Linked DNA regions of Homo sapiens: region 1 is linked to region 2. The links are contacts of gene promoters, found by promoter capture Hi-C in human tissues and cell types (Jung and others, 2019). All regions are on one chromosome and are shown on one strand. The core of a region is centred on a gene start or on the middle of the fragment in contact, and the rest is flanking DNA. Distances in the headings are between cores, read along the strand shown.

Region 1 (6,365 bases), core at 3,866-6,365, 46 kb after region 2:
GCCAGCATAGCAGCTCGCACCTGTAATTCCAGCTAGTTGGGAGGCCGAAGCAGGAGGATCGTGTATACCCAGGAGTTTGAGACTAGCCTCGGGAGCATAGCAAGACCGCATCTCTACAAAAAATAAAAGATTAGCCAGGTGTGGTAGCTCATGCCTGCAGTCCCAGTTACTTGGGAGGCTCAGGTGGGAGGATCACCTGAGCCCAGGAGGTCAAGGCTGCAGTGAGCTGTGGTTGTACCACTGCAGTGCAGCCTGGGCAACGGAGCAAGACCCTGTCTCTTAAAAAGAAGAAAAAGCTGCTTTTGGTATTTTATCACAAATACTGTTGATGGTGTTCCATCCAATGGTTGGACTGAATATCTTTCTCAGTCTCCTCCTTGGTCAAACAGCATAGCCAATGATTGGAGAAGTTTCCTTTGAAGGCAGATCTTGGGAATTCCCATGGGCTAACTGGTCTGCTAGTGGGCTCAGTTCTTTCACTTGTGGTTAACTTGCTTGGTTTTGAAAACATATATTTCTGATTGAATGCCTGGCTGGTTAGCAAGTTTTTAATGAGATTTCTCAAAGCCACAGACATACCCCCTCATAATCATATCCTCACTCACATCTCCGTATTTTGTTAGATTTGTTTTCTCTTAGTTTATACCAAACTGAAAGCAGAACTGCAGGGTAGTGGGGAGCTCTGAGACATTTTTCCCCTGTCAGGAGTCAAAGCATTCAAATGTCCTGATTAGTGATATTTTTAAAAGCCCTAATTATAGACTCGAGACAGAGGCTTTAGTGGGGCTTTAGAGAGTTTGTGAGACTTAATCTAGGAGCTGGAACAGGCTGTGTTTTTAAAATTTTTTGCATCCATAAAAATACAGTTGGCAGTCATTGGTGGCCGCGGCTCACATAAATCTTGAACTTTTGACTTAATTACCATGGGAGAGTTCAAAGGGCAGGCTGGAGTGGTTGAAGGAACACTGCTCAGGGAGCTGGAGATGGGCCTGGCCTCAGCCCGGCCTCTGGCTGTGTGACCTTGATCAAATCACTTAACCTTTCTGGATGACATTGATATCATCAGTCGTTGGGCCAGATGGTCACCGAGGTCTCTTTTGGTACAGCCTGGTAATATGATTCCATGTTTCTCCTTTAAATCATTGGGCCGTGTTCTCTGTTTTTTGGTTCCAGAGAGAGAGAGAGAGAGAGAGAGAGAGAGAGAGAGAGTAGATTATAAACCTTAGGTGTCAGCATTGAGATGTGCAAGGGTTTTGGTGGGGGCAGGCCCAGCAGCCTATGGTTTCTCACTAAGTTTAAATTGCAGGGTCAAAAGAAATCACATAATCCTACCATTTGTTGACAGAATCAATACCTGTCTAGCACATAGATACCTGGAAAGTATGTTCGAACTGGCGGGGACCTTAATCAGTGCAACTACTTCATTTTATAGCTAAAGCTTTTAATAGTCATCCATCCGTCCATCCATCCGTCCGTCCATCCATCCATCCATCCATCCATCCAATAACGCTTGAGTGCCTACTCCATAGGCTAAAGACAACTCCAGCTGTACCCTCCAGGTGCCCTACTGTTGTTGGTCAGCATCAGAAGGAGTATTTTTCAGTACAGAGACACTAATGTTGGAAGCACACATCTATCACAAAGAAGGGGCCCTGAGAAAGAATAACTTGGCTCTAGGGTGGGAATAATAAAGGCTGTGTTGGAGTCCTTTGAAGGAAGTTTCTGTGGGTTTATAAATCTCTCTTTAACTCATTGCATCTTAAAAGACTTCTGTTGTCTTAAAGTAAAATTCTACTTAATATTATTACTAATGTGCAATGACTGTTACAGTGTAGAAAATGATAATGAGTAGGTATGCTATATGCTGGTGATGGGATTTAATTGATGGGATGGGATTGATTGATTGTGGCTAGGTCTGACTGTTCTTTAACCAGCTCATTCTTAGTATTTGATGATTAGGAGAACATCATTCTTGTGGTACCTATTACATCAGAAGGTCTAAGAATGTCAGAGCCAAAGGAACCATACCTCTCATCGAGGTTAATTTGTTTCCTTTACAGGTGGATTAGTGTCATTCATTTTGAATGCCATTGGAAGTTTATACCACACGTCTCTATTAGCTGACTTTAAGCCCGCTCTTCATACACCTCTAAGGTATATAAAGTTCAGGGAAACTCATGTGTCCTTAGCTTGCAGATTCATTTGATTGATTGATTGATTGATTGATTGATTGAGACAGAGTTTTGCTCTTGTCGCCCAGGCTGGAGTGCAATGGCATGATCTCGGCTCACTGCAACCTCTGCCTCCTGGGTTCAAGCAATTCTCCTGCCTCACCCTCCCTAGTAGCTGGGACTACAGCCATGCGTCACCATGTCCAGCTAATTTTTGCATTTTTAGTGGAGACGGGGTTTCACCATGTTGGTCAGGCTGGTCTCGGACTCCTGACCTCAGGTGATCCGCCCACCTCGGCCTCCCAAAGGCTGGGATTACAGGCGTGAGCCACCGCGCCTGGCCTGCAGATTCATTTTAGATAAGATTGTTGAGTAAACATCCCTGTTAAGCATCTACTATGGACAAGGCTGATCTCTGCTTCAGTAGATCTTTAATTTGGTACATGAGTTCCTTCTCCAAATGAGAGTTGTTAAAGCTGTTCACGAGCCTTGGTATAAAAGGGGCTTCCTTAGGTAGAGGAGCCCGTTCTAAGTGCCTGGATGGTGTTTGTCTCCAGCTGTTTTGCAGTTCTTGGGAGGCCCTGGCATTTCCATGTGTGTCCTTTCCAACTGCAAAAACATACAGAGGACACAAGGCTGCTGATGAAGGAAACACAGTAGGGCTATCTTATAGTATTATTATTTTTCTAGATCTTACAGATTCAAGGTTCACATAAAGCTAGTGTATTTTAGGAAGAGCTATTGTAAAATTATAAAAGAGTTCCAGCCGGGCGCGGTAGCTCACGCCTGTAATCCCAGCACTTTGGGAGGCTGAGGCAGGTGGATCATGAGGTCAGGAGATCCAGACCATCCTGGCTAAAACGGTGAAACCCTGGCTAAAACGGTGAAACCCTGTCTCTACTAAAAATACAAAAAAAAAAAAAAAAAAATTAGCCGGGCATGGTGGCGGGCACCTGTAGTCCCAGCTACTCGGGAGGCTGAGGCAGGAGAATGGCGTGAACCCGGGAGGCAGAGCTTGCAGTGAGCCAAGATCGCGCCACTGCACTCCAGCCTGGGCAACAGAGCAAGACGCTGTCTCAAAAAAAGGAAAAAAAAAAAAAAGACTTCCTCCCCTCCCGTATCAAGTTCATTAAACATATTTGTGAGCTTGATATTTAAAGAGAGGCTGTGTGCTGGTGTGATGTTAGCAGTCACCAGGGTGGGGCTGGTCACACATGGGAGCCTGGGTGGAGGGTTGTGCCTGGATTTTTTATGGTGGCCCCCAACCTTGGATCTCTGAGACCTAGATGAGCAGCACTGCACCCGTACCCTGCTGTATGGCTGTGTCTGTGTTTTGCAGAAGCAGATTTTATAGGTGTAGCTTTGATGATTGAAATATCACCCGAGGGAAGTGGCTACCTGCCAGAAATTCCAGCAACATTATTTCACCTTAGTCCTTAAATCACTCCCGAGGCACCAAGACAAAGGTGCGGGTTGCCCATGGGCTGTTGCCACAGGTCAGGCCTGCATAGGTGCGCGTGGTCTGGGCCGGTCCCTGGGCTGTTACAGACTCACCCATGGCTTGGCCCAGTGAGGGCAGAAAAGAACAACATTCCTAGTTCCTTCAGCTAAATCCCACTTTTTTTTTAGGGAACATAAAAATCATGCCTAATGGTATGTAAGCACATATCTGTTGATTTCTTTTATGTAAAAAAGAAAAGACATTCCACAGGATCAGCTCAGCAGTAATTGATGTTATCTGAAAGAGTTACTGCATTAATATTTAGCTAATTCATATGAATAGGCTATTGTGTTTACTTAAACAAATGACATGAGTGCAGACACCTGACAGCATGAGGTATGCTTTTCATTTAGGTTAGATTTGTAAACGTCTTTGTGTAGTGACAAAGCTCATTATTTGTTTTGTGCTCTCAATGGTTTCTTTTTAGTGGCTGTGGCTGTGGATGGATTTTTCTAAGTAGAAGCTTTTAAAATGAAAGTTTATTGAAATTGTTTCAGTATATGCCAGGCCCTGAGAGTCTTGGGATGAATGGGAATCAAGTACTCCCTGGTGAACCCTCAAAAGAATAGGTGCGTTTATGGGCATTCAACACCCAGAGCCAAATGTCTACCCAGGTTGCAAATGCAACTGGATTCAAAGGAAGGAATTCAGCCCCTGTTCCTTCTTTCTCCTCCTTCCTCTTCTTCTCTCCTGGCTTCGATAGTTTTGCCCCTCTTCCCACTGTTTCAGCATCATATGGGTGCACCTAAATCCCATCACTTTGACACTTAGATAAGCACAGGGATAAAGATACAGCATGGCCTTGTAAAGAAATCTCAGCTCTACCTTTGACAACAGGTTTCAAGAGCAAGCGTGAAGGCTAATTGGGGTAGGTGTTTGGATGCAGCGATTTCAATTCCTGATTGTACCCTGAGTCTGGCTGCTAAGTGAAGGGGATCCTTATCCCCCAGGGACGTGCTCTACACCCGTAGAATAGAGGAGACTTCTAAATATGCATCAGAGACAAAGCCCCTGCCTAGGGCCATTTTGCCTTGGGTTTGTGAACTGTGTGTGCTGTTGTTCAGTCTAGCCTTCATCAGAAATAAGCATAGTTATGAATTAGCCTTCTACAATGTTCAAGTCCCTGTTGGTGGCTGTTTCAGAGGAATACAGGGATTTTGGTTACTACTTTGCTAAGACAGAAACATATATGTGAATAGTTAAATTGCTGTACAGTAGAGGTTCTGGACAGGAAAAAAGGAGGACGTGTGCCTTGACCCAGGCTGGCTTTCCCGGACTTCAGCCTTAAACATCAGATTGGTGGAAGGTACGGATTCCAACCTCGTGGAGAAGCTGCATCTTCTTAGCAGTGGAGAGTAGGGTTGAAGATAGTGGGCTCTGGCATCAGACTGATGTGGTTCAAATCTTGGCTGCACCTCTTCCAAGCTTTGTGGCTTTTGGCAGGTTACTTAACTGCTCTGTGCCTCAGTTTCCCCACTTGGAAGCCAAGATTATGATAGTGCCTTTCTTGTTGAAGCATTGTGAAGATTAATGTGTTGACATGTAAAAACTCTTTGAGCAGTGCTTGGCAAAGTAGAAGCTTTCAGTCGGTAGTAGTCATTCGCCATTATTAGCAGACATGAAGAATTTACAGTGGTATTCTGGCTTGATGTTGTGGCTTTTATTTAGAAAAAATATACTTTACTTTGTGATTTAAAACTTTTTTCTTGACTTTAAAAAATCACTTGTATTTATGACTTTCGGGGACATCTGGAGGGCATAACTTTAACATATCATTTAATTGGTAGCCTCCTCTTAAGTTATCATTAGGTGGGGTGGTAGGGTTATGGCATTCATAACCACCATTGGAAAGAAATTTTTTTTTTAATTAAAAAAGTTAGTATGTATTTAGTGATACAGTTTTTTTTTTTGTTTGTTTGTTTGTATATAAGTTCTGAGAAATGTACGAATGACTCTCTGGGTTATTTTATTATATTAGAATGACAATTTATACTATTGATTGCCCTTAAAGTAAGGCTCCAATGGATAAGTTGATAGGGCTTTTGAGAACAACTTGCTTTTACTAGTGTGTATATGTGATCATTTAATAGGTGTGGCAATCCAAAATGATCTATTTTTGGAGGACTGAGCTGTCGCAGTTGTATATGTTGTTCATATGTTTATAAAATAGCATTTTAAAACATGATTTGGCATGAAATTATTTTCTGGCATCAAGAACAAGAGAGAGAAGGGGCCTCAAACACTTTTTTTTTTTTCTTCCTGTTGGTAGACATGAACCATCCCTCTCTGGGACCTTCTGCTCAGCCAGCTGGATTAGACTTCTGAAAATATTTTCCAAATGTAAATATTACCCAAAGATTTAAAAAATAGCCTAGCATTTACATGCAAAGCGAAATGATCTTACCTGTTTGGAGTTTACTCATGGAGGGGAAGCTGTCCATCAGTATACATTCTAATACTGTTTTCCAAAACAGGAGCACCATACTGGACCAACACAGAAAAGATGGAAAAGCGGCTCCATGCTGTGCCTGCGGCCAACACTGTCAAGTTTCGCTGCCCAGCCGGGGGGAACCCAATGCCAACCATGCGGTGGCTGAAAAACGGGAAGGAGTTTAAGCAGGAGCATCGCATTGGAGGCTACAAGGTAGAATTAAGCTTTCAGAACATCACATTTCTTACATTTTTGTTTATTT
Region 2 (5,668 bases), core at 2,843-5,342:
TCTACTAAAAATACAAAAAATTAGCTGGGCGCGGTGGCAGGCACCTGTAGTCCCAGCTACTCAGGAGGCTGAGGAAGGAGAATCATTTGAACCCTGAGGGTGGAGGCTGCAGTGAGCCGAGATCGTGCCACTGCATTCCAGCCTGGGTGACAGAGTGAAACTCTGTCTCAAAAAAAAAAAAGAAAAAAAAAATCCAGGAAATAAGAACCATTATTTTCCCCATTTTACAGCTGAGAAAATGGAAAACTCAGATAACTCAAGCAACTGGCCTGAGGTAACACAGCGTTTGTTTGTTTGTTTGTTTGTTTTTTTTGAGACGGAGTTTCTCTCTTGTTACCCAGGCGGGAGTGCAATGGCACGATCTCGGCTCACCGCAACCTCTGCCTCCTAGGTTCAAGTGATTCTCCCGGCTCAGCCTCCTGAGTAGCTGAGATTACAGGCATGTACGACCATGCCCAGCTAATTTTGTATTTTTAGTAGAGACGGGGTTTCTCCATGTTGGTCAGGCTGGTCTTGAACTCCTGACCTCAGGTGATCCACTTGCCTCGGCCTCCCAAAGTGCTGGGATTACAGGTGTGAGCCACCATGCCAGGCCTTTTTTTGTTGTTTTTTGAGAGGGAATCTTGCTCTGTCACCCAGGCTGGAGTGCAGTGGGGCGATCTCAGCTCACTGCAACCTCAGCCTCCTGGGTTCAAGCGATTCACATGCCTTAGCTTCCAGAGTATGTGGGATTACAGGCATGCGCCACCACAAGCGGCCAATTTTTGTGTTTTTAGTGGAGACGGCATTTCACCATGTTGGTCAGCCTGGTCTCGACTTCCTGCCTTCAAGTGATCCGCCTGCCTCGGCCTCCCAAAGTGCTGGAATTACAGGCGTGAGCCACTGCGCCCGGCCACAGGTCACAAAGCTATTGAGTAAAGAAAGCTGCATCCAGCCTCTCACCTTAAGAAAGCCATTCCCCTTTGCCTCAAAGTGAGGCTATACTTCCAGAAGGACTTTGTCTCCGGGGAAGCCTTGGCTTTGGAATTCAGGCCCAGTTCTAAGTTTAAAATCATTGATGCTGTTCAGTAGTGGGATCAATGATTTTGCTTCACTTAAATGCCACAAGCTCCCTGAAGATGGGCTGGAGCTGTCACAGCATCCAGCCCCTCCCCTTACCCAGAAGTAAATACTCTTATCATAGTCCTCCGACTATTCTATATCCTTCCATTTGAGTGCTTCTTTTATGCCGAGGGCACTATTGAGATGTAGCTTAGAGAATGAAATTCCTGGTGTTGCAGGGAGCTCAGATCCACCCGGGAAGGTTCATGAGCACTTCATGTCAGCAGCCTTTATTTCATCTAACGTTTCCATAGAGTGAAGGAACAGCCACCCATTACAAAACAAATTATTAAAAGAAAAATTCCAAATCTTCAAAGGAGAGAGGCCCATGGTAGTGAGCGCTCCCACCCCCTTCTCCTTTCTCTTCCCATCACCAACGGGCTAGCAGCACAATTTGTTTCTTGAAACTTTTGGGGGCATCGGAGTTCTGGTGTCCTCATTTTTCTTCCTTCCCATTGATGTATCATTACTAGAGTGAAAAAAGAAGGGCGTCTCGAGGGCTTTTGAAAAAAAAAAAGGGTGACTACTCAAGACATTTTGTAAAGGGGGGAAAATTGCGAAGAAAAGAGACCTCAGTAGGGGGTGGAGGAACTGTGAATGTGTCCTTGTCTGGCGGTTCTTTCAGCTGAAACCTGGTGCTGGCGTTCGCAGTTCAGTTCAAACTGTCACCTTTAGTTCTTACTGGCTTTTCTGCCCTTGCCCCAGAACCTCAACAGATTGGGGCTTATTTACCTATTCACACTCCGCCGTGGAAGCTCATTAATAGGCTTTATTAGCAACACCATTCATGGGAGGCCATTGACGAAAGGGGTTCCAGCCACTTGAAGAGGGAAGAGAAAAGAAAAAACTGTAAAGAGATTATTTTCTCATTCAGAAGCCTCAGTGGTGTGAAGGTTTTCCTGGATGGTCTGAGGTCACTTGAAGACTAAATATGGGGACATAATTGATTTTTTAAAAATAATTCTAAACATACTTCCCCCCCCTCCTCAAAACTGAAGAGTTTCCTGTTGTGGTCTTGTGGGTTTCAGTCCCTTATATATGAGCCCTCTTTAGGGAATAAGGAGCTTTTGATAGATTGGTGTCTTTTCATTTCTATAAAAAATACATTCTGCAAACTGTGCCTGGACATGAAAGTAGGTGTTCTTATTTGTCATTTTCAGCGGAAAGCTTCCTTTCCATTCAACATGCATAAAGCTATTGATGAATGGGGGATAGGGACAGCGGCTTCCTGCACCATTAATTTATGTGAGAATGTGTTAACAGCATTTTCAATGGCTGATGGATGCGGTGTAGGATGGGAAAGGAACTGTCCTGAGACACTCGAGTTTCCCATTGGTGGGGAATATAAAGATGTAAGTGGCAACCTGCGAGCAGGCAGACACGTTCAGCTGCATCCCTTTTCTGAGAACTTGAAAACATACTGCTATCAGAACAACCCGTGTGGGAGTGAATGGCTAAGTGTCAACCTGGGCTGAGGTGTCCGTTAATGTATAGGCTCTGGGGCTAATCCAGGTTAGAGGACTTGACCAAAAACATACCCTCCCACCAAGCATATAGAGGGATAATTTTGCTTAAGAACCAGTTTTTATTTTGTTGCTATCAAATTTCCAAAATACAATGTTATAGCCTTTTGCCTGAGGCAGTTAAATGGATTTCTTACTTGTGTGGCTTTTAAATAACTTGCATAAACGTTTTCTGTGCTATATTTGTGAATAAAAATGATTTTCTAATCATGTAGCACCTTGAAAAATATTTTTGTAAATGTTATGAAGGGTGCAATGTTAGTGACACAGGTGCAAATATGTTTCTAAATCCAGGAAAAGTCTGTTTTCCAAGTCAGGTTTGTTCTCAATGCTTCATCTATCTTCAGGCCTCAAAAGGATTCTAAAGCATTTCTGGGTTTAGTGACCTTTTCTAAAGAAAAATAATTAAGGTTTTAATCTATATGGTCTTGAACTTAAGCACGGCTGCTCAGGAGCTGGATGAATAAGGAGGGAGAAAAAGCATATTTAAAATAAATTATTCCGAAGACACGGCTTAGTGAAAAGGTAAATGGACATAGGAACTTTAACCAGTTACAGCTTGGTGTGCAGTTGAAGAATCAGATTTTGCATTTATGATTTTTAATCTAAGATTCAGAGGGAGGAATTACTTTGTTCAAGGTCTATTTATGGTAGAGTTGTCTTTAGACTCCTTTGAATTTCTTTTTATTAATCCAAACATATATTATTAAACACTTTTTTTTTTTGATGCAATTTTGGCTTTTTCTGAGAGAGCCACATTCAAAGTCAGGCTGTCCTAGTAGCCAGCTGTGTGGTCCTAGGCAAATTACTTAACCTCTCTGATCCTGTTTCCTTATCAGAAACTGGGAATAGTACTCTGCAGGGTGGTTGGGCAGATGAAATAGAATCACCTATGTAGTGTGACCCTCCCATAGTAGGGCCTCCATTAATATTCAGTTTTTTCCTCTCATTTCTATTGTTTAGAAGGACAGAAACATGCAATGTCCTGCGAACATTTCCAAGTGGCTTCCTCTCCTCCAAAAGCTTCAGCTGCCTGGCAACCCTCCCCGCAGTATCAAGCAGGCGCATTTTAAAGTCTCTTTAGCGGGAGGGCAGGGTTAGAGCCTTCGGTCATTTGTTTTCTAACTTGACATAAAACAACGTAACGCAGTCGCTCAGCGAGCCGTTGGCCAGCCTCGCTCGCCCGGGGAGGAGGGAGGAGGTGGCGCGGGGCGCGGGACCAGGCCTTATTCGGAGGCTGTCGCTGCATCCCTACGGCCGCATCGCGGCCGAGCCCTCGCCTCCCGGGCCGGTGTCTCCGGCTGCTCGGAGGCGTCGGGAGCCGCGCGGGACTCGGGGCGGCCCGGGCGCGCGGCGCTGATTGGCAGAGAGGGCGCCGCCGTCCAGGAAACGGCTCGGGTTTCAGTGGGGGCGTGACCCGCCGCGAGGAGGCGGGGGCGGCGGCGGCGGCGCGGGCGGCGGCTGGAGGAGAGCGCGGTGGAGAGCCGAGCGGGCGGGCGGCGGGTGCGGAGCGGGCGAGGGAGCGCGCGCGGCCGCCACAAAGCTCGGGCGCCGCGGGGCTGCATGCGGCGTACCTGGCCCGGCGCGGCGACTGCTCTCCGGGCTGGCGGGGGCCGGCCGCGAGCCCCGGGGGCCCCGAGGCCGCAGCTTGCCTGCGCGCTCTGAGCCTTCGCAACTCGCGAGCAAAGTTTGGTGGAGGCAACGCCAAGCCTGAGTCCTTTCTTCCTCTCGTTCCCCAAATCCGAGGGCAGCCCGCGGGCGTCATGCCCGCGCTCCTCCGCAGCCTGGGGTACGCGTGAAGCCCGGGAGGCTTGGCGCCGGCGAAGACCCAAGGACCACTCTTCTGCGTTTGGAGTTGCTCCCCGCAACCCCGGGCTCGTCGCTTTCTCCATCCCGACCCACGCGGGGCGCGGGGACAACACAGGTCGCGGAGGAGCGTTGCCATTCAAGGTAATCGCCGCGCAAGACGCCTCGGGGAGCTTCGCCAGCCGGGGACGTGGGCGCCACGGGAGCCCGGGACGCCGGGTGCACCGTCCTCCGGGCGGGGGGCGCGGAAGGACTAGCATTGTGGAGGACGCTCCGTGTCCTCCCTCTGTGGCTGCATAGGTGATGGGGGAGGTGGGTGCGTGCTGACGGCCGGCGTTCTGGAAGTTCTGCCTCTGCTACCCCCATCCAGATGCTGACATCTGCTTCTGGCGTTGACGCCCCCCTCCCTGTCAAACCCTGGCGGGCGCATTCCCGCTGACTGGGCGCGTTTCTCCGACCCCAGAGCAGACGGGCGGAAGGTTCGCCTGCCCGTGGCACAGCCCCGCAGGCCGGTTCCCGGGGTCATCTCCGAGGTGCCCCATCCGTGTGTCCTGGGAACTTCCGTACCATCCAGGCCCTGCGGAGACCCCTTTTTCGGGAGGGGGCCGCTGGGGTGGGGCCGGTGACATCCCGTAGGGGTGGCGATGGCCAGGGGTGGCACTGCTGGGGAGGCGACGGCTCCGGTGCCTGGGCGCCCCTCGCCCGCAGCCGCCGTCGGCGCTGGAGGGAGCGCAGTGCGCCTGGGGCTAGGGGGCGAACTGGACCGACTTTTTCTAGTTCGCCTGCCTGCTCTGCCGCAGCGGCTGGGAGATGTCGAAAGCGCAGGCGAGTTCTAACTTGCGCGCTCATTTTTTTCGGCCACGGGGCCGCGCTGGGGAAAAAAGCCGAGGGCCCTGCGTGGCGCTGGCTCCGACCCTCGCGGACCACGGACCTGGCGCAGGAGGCCCGCTCGGGGACCACCAGCCTCCGTCGCTCTCCTCGCACCCCGCTCCCTTGCAGACCGTTCTCCAGACCCTCCTTCCTTTCTCCCAATTCAATAAAACCTACCCTTAAAGGCAAACCTGCTTTCAAACTCAGGGCACCCATTATGTGTTTGGTGTGAAACGCTATCAACATTTAAAACTCCATTGTCTCCCTGGTCCCAAATCCCTGTAAATCTTCCACCGGGCTCGACTCATTTTCATCTGAAAAGCCTGTTTAGTTTGAATAGAAAAGCAATCAGGCGCCCCTCTCTCTTT

The links. Contacts are between HindIII fragments. The study calls those that stand out against the background at their distance.
Region 1: a contact is called between a fragment that was not itself captured here and the fragment with the promoter of FGFR2 in region 2, in 1 of the 25 tissues and cell types used here (hippocampus).

What each region holds. Positions count from the first base shown.
Region 1 is chr10:121,551,241-121,557,605 of GRCh38, reverse strand. It overlaps FGFR2 (fibroblast growth factor receptor 2), which reads left to right. Exons shown (of 18, transcript NM_000141.5): 5 at 6,147-6,316. Among named protein-coding and RNA genes, the nearest start is that of FGFR2, 44 kb to the left of the region's middle. The HindIII fragment of the contact is 4,656 bases long and covers 2,788-6,365 here.
Region 2 is chr10:121,596,868-121,602,535 of GRCh38, reverse strand. It overlaps FGFR2 (fibroblast growth factor receptor 2), which reads left to right and starts at 4,092. Exons shown (of 18, transcript NM_000141.5): 1 at 4,092-4,574. RefSeq lists enhancers at 4,886-5,621, 5,622-5,668. The HindIII fragment of the contact is 2,645 bases long and covers 2,959-5,603 here.